3 separate regions of the Homo sapiens genome follow, and regions 2 and 3 are each linked to region 1. The links are contacts of gene promoters, found by promoter capture Hi-C in blood cells and fetal thymus (Javierre and others, 2016). All regions are on one chromosome and are shown on one strand. Each heading gives the region's core, a stretch centred on a gene start or on the middle of the fragment in contact. The rest is flanking DNA. Distances are from core to core; before and after follow the strand shown.

Region 1 (2,700 bases), core at 46-2,545:
ATCTCACTCACCAAGGACTTTCCTGTTCAGGGACTTTCAAGAGGTTGTTCCTTCTTCCTAGAATGTTTTTCCTCACATTCTTTCTTCTGGGAGAGTCCTACTCATCTTTCTGATTTCAATTTAAATATGACTGTCTCAGAGAGACATTTCTCATAAAGAGAAAAACCTGTATTCAGAAAGTCTGAGGCATTCCTTGACACTCACCATAAAATCAAAATGTGATGTATTTGTTAAACACTCTTATAGTGCCTTGTGTTTTCCTTAACAACACTTATCAGGGTCTGCATTTAGTTGTATGATTATTTGGTTACTGACTGATCCCCTCACTCAACTAGACTGAAGTACTCTGAGAACCAGAGCTACTTCTGCCTTATTCATTACAGCATCTCTATCACTTAACATACTCTCTGATGCATAGTATGGGCACAATGAACATCTGTAGGTTGAGTAACAAATATTTGTCAAGCGAGCGAGTAAATGAATAAATCAAGCAAAAAGCACAGAAGAGAAGTTTATAGTTCTCAACAGACCAAGACAAAAACATCTCGGATTCTGAGGAAACATATCACCCTTCAAACACTTTCTGTAGCGACCTCACACCTTCACAGCCACTACACTGTTTTTGCCCATGCTTCCTCACTTGCCCCTCACACAGATAGCCCCATGAGATAAAACAGAGTAGGCTTATCATAGGCATCTGACAGATGTGCCCACCGCCTCTTGTATTTCCTTCTTAACATTCATCACATCACAAAGACTTTCTCCCTCCAGACTTGTAAGCTCCTAGTGACACGGACCGATTCTTGTTCACCACAGGATCCCTATTGTGTTGCATGAACAAGAAGTAGAGTATCTCCAAAGAGTTGTCTAAGGTGACAATAAACACGGCCAATGAAAAGAAACCACTTTTTGTTGAACATCTATGTACCAAACCAAGTCAGTAAGGTAGGTACCATTCTGCGGATAAGTACCGTATACTTAAGTTCAGAGAGGTGAAATTACTCGCTCAAAGTCACGCAGAATAAACGTCACTCTGAACCCTGCATCTCAGTCCCACCTGCTGCAGTAGAGACGCCATCTCTTCCTGCAATGGGGTCAACGGCTTGGAGACTACAGGTGGCCGCTGCAGGCACAACGCGCCCAACAAGCGCCATGGGGATCCGTTGCTTGAGGGTGCGGCTGCAAGAGCCAGGCTGCGAGAGCTTAGACTGCCGGCCCAGAGCCTCTCGAACCGCCGCCAACCCCCCGCCACCCCTAACAGCGTCCGCCTTACGGGCGCCGCCATCTTTCGTTCTCCCACAATGCACCGCGGCTCCCAGGGATCCCTCAGCCGCGGGAGCGGCAAACTAGGGGAAAGCTCAGTCCCGGAACTGCTAGAACGAACCATTCGCATATGGAGGGGGTGACCCACCATCTCAGAACATTAAAAAAGGGAAAGAATCCCCTGGTGAACTACAGTGAAAGTCTTATTGAGCATTTAAATGGAAATAAAAATATTCAGTGGACCTAATGAAGAGTAGATGACTTTCCCTTCTGTCCCCTCCCCGACAGGCACTCATGGTACCGGCGCCGGCGCAGCTGTGACTGTCGCTGCAGACGGAAACTGACTGGGGTCAATTCAAGTCATGCAGGCTGTGAGAAACGCGGGGTCGCGGTTCCTGCGGTCCTGGACTTGGCCCCAGACAGCCGGGTAACAAATGACTGCCCCCTCGAGCCCACCGCCACCTCCAGGACTATGCTCCTACTCGTGTCCCTTGAGCCACCCGGGCCCCAGTGACCGTTAGGCCGTGGCCCTCACCGAGCTTTTCTTCCCAGCAGGGTCGTGGCCAGAACGCCGGCCGGGACCATCTGCACAGGCGCTCGACAGCTCCAAGACGCTGCGGCCAAGCAGAAAGTTGAACAGAACGCGGCTCCCAGCCACACCAAGTTCAGGTGAGCCCCACTTGGACCAGCCCTCTGGAGACCCGCAACCCCTGACTCTTGCCCGACACCCTCCAGAGTCAGAACCAGTGAATTTTCAGCTATGTCACTTGCTATCCGTGGGACCTTATGCAAATAAATCTGAGCCTCAGCCTTCTCATCTAAAAATGCGGATAATGCTGAGAGAGGTTGTGAGAATCAGATGAGCCGTGGTACAGAGTAAATGTTCAGTGAACATTCGTTAAATCAATGAGTGAATGTGAGATATCCATAACATGTATCAGCGTTCTTTTCTTCTGAGATGGAGATCTTTTCAGACCAATAACCTTCCCTGCCTCCAAAACAAAATGGGGAGGTAGAGGGCGCTAGCGATGGAACAGATGTTCCTGCACGTCTTACGGATGGTCCAGGGTGGGTTTTGTGCTCAGCCCTAGGAACTGGCATCTTGCTTCCCACCAGTGCCACCACCTCTGTATGCTGTATACACATCCACTTAACTTCACATCCATTTAACAAACATTTACCAAGAATCTACTATGAGTGAGACACCATGCTAGGTGCCGTGAATACAGATACAAAAGATCATTCCTCCCCACAAGTAGTTCACAGTCTTTGAGGGAAGACAAACATGCAAACATTTTAACCATAATCTGCTCAATAATATAATGGAGGTAAGCATTGGTTGGAAGTATGAAATCATAAGTGTCTAACTCCTGGCCGGGTGCAGTAGCTCATGCCTTTAATCCCAGCACTTTAGGCGGCCAAGGTGGGCGAATTACT
Region 2 (2,700 bases), core at 103-2,602, 600 kb after region 1:
ACTGCATTATTAAATACTCATTGCTCCTCTCCATGGGTCTGTTTTGCTGAACCCTAATTAACCTCAGTAGGGAAGGCACCAGGTTCAAGAGGTCAAAGAAGAGACCCAAAGGTAGCAAATAAGACATGGGGTTTTGGCCGGGCACGGTGGCTCACACCTGTGATCCCAGCACTTTGGGAGGCCAAGGCGAGTGGATCACCTGAGGTCAGGAGTTCAAGACCAGCCTGGCCAACATGGTGAAACCCCATCTCTACTAAAAATATAAAAAATTAGCTGGGCATGGTGTCAAGCGCCTATAATCCCAGCTACTTGGGAGGCTGAGGCAGGAGAACCGCTTGAACCCGGGAGGTGGAGGTTGCAGTGAGCCAAGATTGTGCCTTTGCATTCCAGCCTGGGCAACAAGAGCAAAACCCCGTCTCAAAAGAAAAAAAAAGACATAGGGTTTTATTTGGGGCTTACATACAGGGGAGAGTCTCCAGCAGTGGCAGACTGGACAGGAAAAACGCAACCACTTGCAAACAGCATGCAGTTTATACAGTATTTTCACTTAAAACCCTCCCCTTAACAACCTTCACCTGGTAACCTGCATTTAACCTAAAACAAATGGCCTCCATCCCTTATACGGCCCACATTCCACCAGACAGGAAGGGAGTGGGGTGGAGCTCACATGTTCCTCATAGACAGGAAGGAATCTCTGGGTTGGCCACTCCCAGATTCCCTAGCTCAGAGCACACACTCAGGTGCGTCTGCCATACAGGGTCATTCTAAGGGTATGCTTAAGTTATTGCTATTGGGTATGTTTATCCTACAGGGTCCCTCAATACTGGACGATTATAATGCTCACTCCCTGATGACAAACTTGGTCATATGACTTTTTTGGCCAATGGAAGTGGTGCATGCCACTTTCGGGTAGAAGCTTTATTGTAGGGTGACCAACCTCAGTTACCTGAAGACGAAGACTATTCTGGTTTTAACACTAAAGTGTTGTGTCCCAGGAAACCCCCAGTCCTGGGCAAACTGGGATAGCTGGTCACCCAAGCTGTAAGAGTCATGTCACACTTTTATTTTTTTCCTTTTTGAGGAGAACAAAAATGTCTCCGTTAGAAACCTCCTATGAGCCTTGGTCACAGAATGAGGAGGAAGATAGCTGACCTCGATGGATATGTAATGCAAATAAGAAACAAATGTTTGGGCCAGGTGCAGTGGCTCATGCCTGTAATCCCAGAACTCTGGGAGACCGAGGCAGGTGCATCACTTGAGGTCAGGATTTTGAGACCAGCCTGACCAACATGGCGAAACCCTGTCTCTACTAAAAATACAAAAATTAGCCAGGCATGGTGGTGGGGGCCTGTAGTCCCAGCTACTCGGGAGTCTGAGGCACAAGAATCACTTGAACCCAGGAGGCAGAAGTTGCAGTTAGCTGAGATTGTGCCACTGCTCTCCAGCCTGGGTGACAGAGCAAGACTCGGTCTCAAAAGAGGAAAGGAGGGGAAGGAGAAGGGGAAGGGGAAGGATGAGCAGGAGGGGGAGGGGAAGGGGAAGGATGAGCAGGAGGGGGAGAGGAAGGGGAAGGGGAGGGAAGAAAAGGAGAGGGGAGGGGAGGGAAGGGAAAGTTAAGTTTGGGGTTTATTTAGCCACTGAGTTGAGAAGGTCATTTGTTACTGCAGGATAACTTAGCCTAAGCTGACTGAGGCAGCTCTACATGATATCTTTGGTATTCACCCATTCATCCATTTCTTATTGATGTCTGACAAGTTCTGCCTCTTCTTGCCCTCAATATGGTTATGCCAAGCTTCTCCTTGGAACTTCAGTACTTTTGTGAGTAGAGCTGCCAAGTAAAATACAAAATGCTCAGCTAAATTTGAAATTCAGATAAACAATACATAATTTTAGAAACTTTTCCTAAATTTAAATTGATCATATTAATAAAATTTAATTTTTAACTAGTAAGTTTGCTAAACCTGTTTTCACTACTTAAAATAATTTTATAAGTATAGCCCACACAATATTTGAGACATACTTATACTAAAAAAGTATTTGCTCTTTATCTGAAATTCAAATTTAACTAGGCATTCTGTATTTTCATTTGCTAAATCTAGCAAGCCTAGTTGTGAGGAAAGCACTTTTTGAGGGGCCTGGGACAAAGAATATACTCAGAAAATTCCCACTTCTACAGAGAGCAGCATTGTGGAGCAATGCTAAACTTAATCTATCATCAGATTTATGGGGAGCTTTAAAAAAGGGACCTAGGTGTGAGCTCAGACCTGATTAGCTAGAAACTTGTGTGGAATATCTGGGGAATCTGTAGTTTTTGAGACAGTCTTGCTCTGTTGCCCAGGCTGGAGTGCAGTGGTACGATCTTGGCTCACTGCAACTTCCGCCTCCTAGGTTCAAGCGATTCTCCTGCCTCAGCCTCCCAAGTAGCTAGGATTACAGGTGCCCACGACCATGCCTGGTAATTTTTTTGTATTTTTAGTAGAGACAGAATGTCACAATGTTGGCCAGGCTGGTCTCGAACTCCTGACCTCAGGTGATCCACCCTCCTCGGCCTCCCAAAGTGCTGGGATTACAGGGAATCTGTAGTTTTCTTTTAAAAAGTGTGTTAATTCTGATCATTGGCCAGGTTTGGAAACTAGTGGCCTCACGCACTACTTCTCAAACTCTAACCATGCGAAGCATCTCGGGATCTTGCCAAACACA
Region 3 (2,700 bases), core at 6-2,505, 620 kb after region 1:
AAGGATGTTATTTGGTTACGCTCCATAAAACTTGAGCCAGCCCACTGTTCCTTGTCACAACCTGAAATATGTTGGGAAAAATTTACATGGTAACAAATGCCACTTCCCTTCTCTGACTAAATCGCTCCTCTCATTTCATCCCCTGCTCCCTCTCTCCGAGCCCTATGGGGCCTTGGTAGGGTGGCCTTGTCTGCCCTACAGGGGTTGCATTTCAAGTCGCTCAAGTGTTCTATTCTTGGTACACGACATGCCATTGCAAAAGCAGTTTCAGGCTCATAGAATTTTAGAAATGGGCCTAGTTTCCCAGCCGGATGAGGTGAGTGGGTGATGGGGGAAGAATCAGCCTTGATTGAATGCCTGTTGAGTGCCAGCCACTGTTGGCATTTATCAGAGTTTATTTAATCTTCTCATCAACTACTATTGTTACCCTCAGTTGCCAAGTGAAGGGAGCATGCGGGAAGGTTAAGTGACTTGCCCAAGCCCACACAACCGGTAGGAGCCCCAATTCCAGGCCCTAGTTCCAAGGCTACATTCTTCCAGGCGGCCTCCAACTGGGTTGGTTAAGGGTTGAAAGGACAGTGGGACAATAACTGAGGCCCGTATTGCCCAGAGCGTCCCCATCCCCCGTCCGGAGCTGGAAGAGGCCATAGACCGCTGCCTCCACATCTTTTCCTCTCCTTCGGGTTCGGTGACTCACGACCCTTCTTCCTCTCTCCCGGGATATGACCTCAAATTTCACCCCTGCGAAATTTGAGTACACGTGAGTCAGTCAGTCGGCCTGGACCCATAAGAGCCCCAGCTGAGCTACCAGCAGCTGAGCTACCAGCCGACCTCATTCCTCTGAGCCCAGTCGACAGCTGACCTTACCCAGCCCTCTAAAGCAGTTTGCGGTCACAATTACCCGTCTCTTCACCCCGCCCCCATCGACATCAAACACGACCCACCTTCTAGCCCTCCTCCCCTTTCCCCGCCCACTCCGGGCTGGCCTTATCCAGTAGCGTCTGGGTCCCTGGACTAAAGCCGTCAAATGTAACCAATTGCTGAGGAGCTCTCCCCTAAGAATCCCGCCTCCACTCTGAGGAACAGCTTCGCTGATCAATGGATCCCCTCCTAGACGCAATGAGCGCGCGGGGCAAGTGGAGAAGCGGCTGAACTGCCCAATGAACAAGCGGTTTCCGTGGTTAGGGGCGTGGCAGAAGCGGTCGTCAGGGGCGTGGCGGCAGTTACTTGGGCGGGGCCGGTAGCGGCGGGAGCTGCACTGGCCAGGGGTTCCGGCTGTATATCCATGAGCGCCGCTGGCAGCCGGGGAGCTGCAGGAACCAGACTGGGGGCGAGCTGAGCACCTGTAGTCAATCACACGCAGGTAAAGCCACGGCCGAGCGAGCTCCGCGGAGCGGGGATCGCACCCCGGACCCGTCGAACCGAATCTCCGAGCCCCGAGGTCCCCGGCGTAGCTCGGCCCATCACGCCGCAGCCTGAGGGGATCCTGGGGGGCCTGTCATCTGGCGCCGTGGGGGTCCCAGGGGCTGGCTTGCCCAGTGGTGGGGACAGCCCAGATCGCGGCGGGGGATACGCCTTCCTGAGGCCCTTTGTCCCCTTCTGCCCGAGGAACCGAGGTTGGGGACAACCCCGACCGCGGCCTTTCCCCCATTGGTGCTCACTCCTGGGTCTTCAGGGGCCTGGGGAGGGGTCTGCCGGTTCAGGCTCGGCGAAGAAGGTCCGGGATCCGCACCTGGAAGGAGAGGGCCGAGGGGCCTGATTACAGCCCGAGATACCCGAGAGGCCTCTGTGTTTCGGGGCTCCAGGGGCTCACGCAGGACCAGTGGGTTTAAGTTCTAGAAAGGCAGCTTTTGACCCACTTGGAAGCACATTTACCGAGTTCGGCCCCGCGACCGGCACTGTTCTAGGCCCTTCGTGAGCTTTTCCCACAGCTAGAGCTGTCCAGCAGCGCAGGAGGCTGCCTGCCAGGCCGGGCAGCTAGCGCCTCGACCTTGGCGATGTCCAAGCAGTGGCCTGATGACAGCCACCTGTGTCGGATGCTTAGGACTCCCAAGGGAGGACTGCATGACCCATCTGTAAGGGCCTTCTCTACCCACAAATGCACTCTAAGTGGCCTTTGATGCCTAGCTTGAGAAGAGTACTTCTGGGGGTCCATTAGGTTCCAAGTGGCTGTTGAATTCACCCATAATGAATTTTGAGGTTTCAGCTCTCAAGAGTGGGTGTTAGCAAAGAGACTGGATTATACAAAAAGATAGAGGTTTATTTAGCCACTGTGAAACTCCTTGTATTTGAACTACCATGGACCGCTCTCTTAATCTTCCCAATCTCTCTTTTTTGGTTGCTGGACCTCCAGTTTGTCAGTTTCACCTGCATTCCAGTAACCAAATCCAAAGGCATGTTCCAAGAACAGGCTCCACAGAGGGACCTGGAGAGACTGCAGGTTTGGCAGAGTCAACAAGATCTGTGCCCAGAGCTTTTCGAAGGCCGTTTCCTTACAGCCACATTAAGCAGAGTCCAAAAGAGAAATCCTTCACTACCCTCTGTCATTTGCCGGAATAGAGAGAACATAATAATCTAAAGGTCAGGAGGCAGAGAAAGAATCTTAACACACCTTGCTGTGTGTTTTAGGATGAATTAATCTTTGAACATCTAGTCAGAAAGCAGTCCATATACAGCTGGTAGTCAGCACGGACTGTGACA

What was found. Contacts are between HindIII fragments. The CHiCAGO score rates a contact against its expected background, and 5 or more counts as called.
Region 2: a contact is called between a fragment that was not itself captured here and the fragment with the promoter of MRPL46 in region 1, in 5 of 17 cell types (naive CD8 T cells, total B cells, total CD8 T cells and 2 more). The highest score is 7.3, in naive CD8 T cells.
Region 3: a contact is called between the fragment with the promoter of ABHD2 here and the fragment with the promoter of MRPL46 in region 1, in 3 of 17 cell types (total B cells, naive CD8 T cells and total CD4 T cells). The highest score is 9.1, in total B cells.

Annotation. Positions count from the first base shown.
Region 1 is chr15:88,466,093-88,468,792 of GRCh38, forward strand. It overlaps MRPL46 (mitochondrial ribosomal protein L46), which reads right to left and starts at 1,296. Exons shown (of 4, transcript NM_022163.4): 1 at 1,058-1,296. The coding sequence starts at 1,285. It overlaps MRPS11 (mitochondrial ribosomal protein S11), which reads left to right and starts at 1,616. Exons shown (of 6, transcript NM_022839.5): 1 at 1,616-1,690; 2 at 1,816-1,932. The coding sequence starts at 1,626. RefSeq lists enhancers at 1-830, 1,297-1,466. The HindIII fragment of the contact is 6,788 bases long and covers 1-2,700 here.
Region 2 is chr15:89,071,003-89,073,702 of GRCh38, forward strand. All of the region lies in intron 2 of CARMAL (coronary artery disease region linked MFGE8 regulatory lncRNA), which reads left to right. It also overlaps a transcript of ABHD2 not described here. Among named protein-coding and RNA genes, the nearest start is that of ABHD2, 16 kb to the right of the region's middle. The HindIII fragment of the contact is 876 bases long and covers 915-1,790 here.
Region 3 is chr15:89,087,201-89,089,900 of GRCh38, forward strand. ABHD2 (abhydrolase domain containing 2, acylglycerol lipase) reads left to right here and starts at 1,256. Exons shown (of 11, transcript NM_152924.5): 1 at 1,256-1,363. It overlaps LOC124903573, which reads right to left. Exons shown (of 7, transcript XM_047433432.1): 5 at 1,635-1,732; 6 at 868-1,486; 7 at 361-741. The coding sequence ends at 527. RefSeq lists enhancers at 19-664, 1,275-1,454, 1,396-1,915. The HindIII fragment of the contact is 11,698 bases long and covers 1-2,700 here.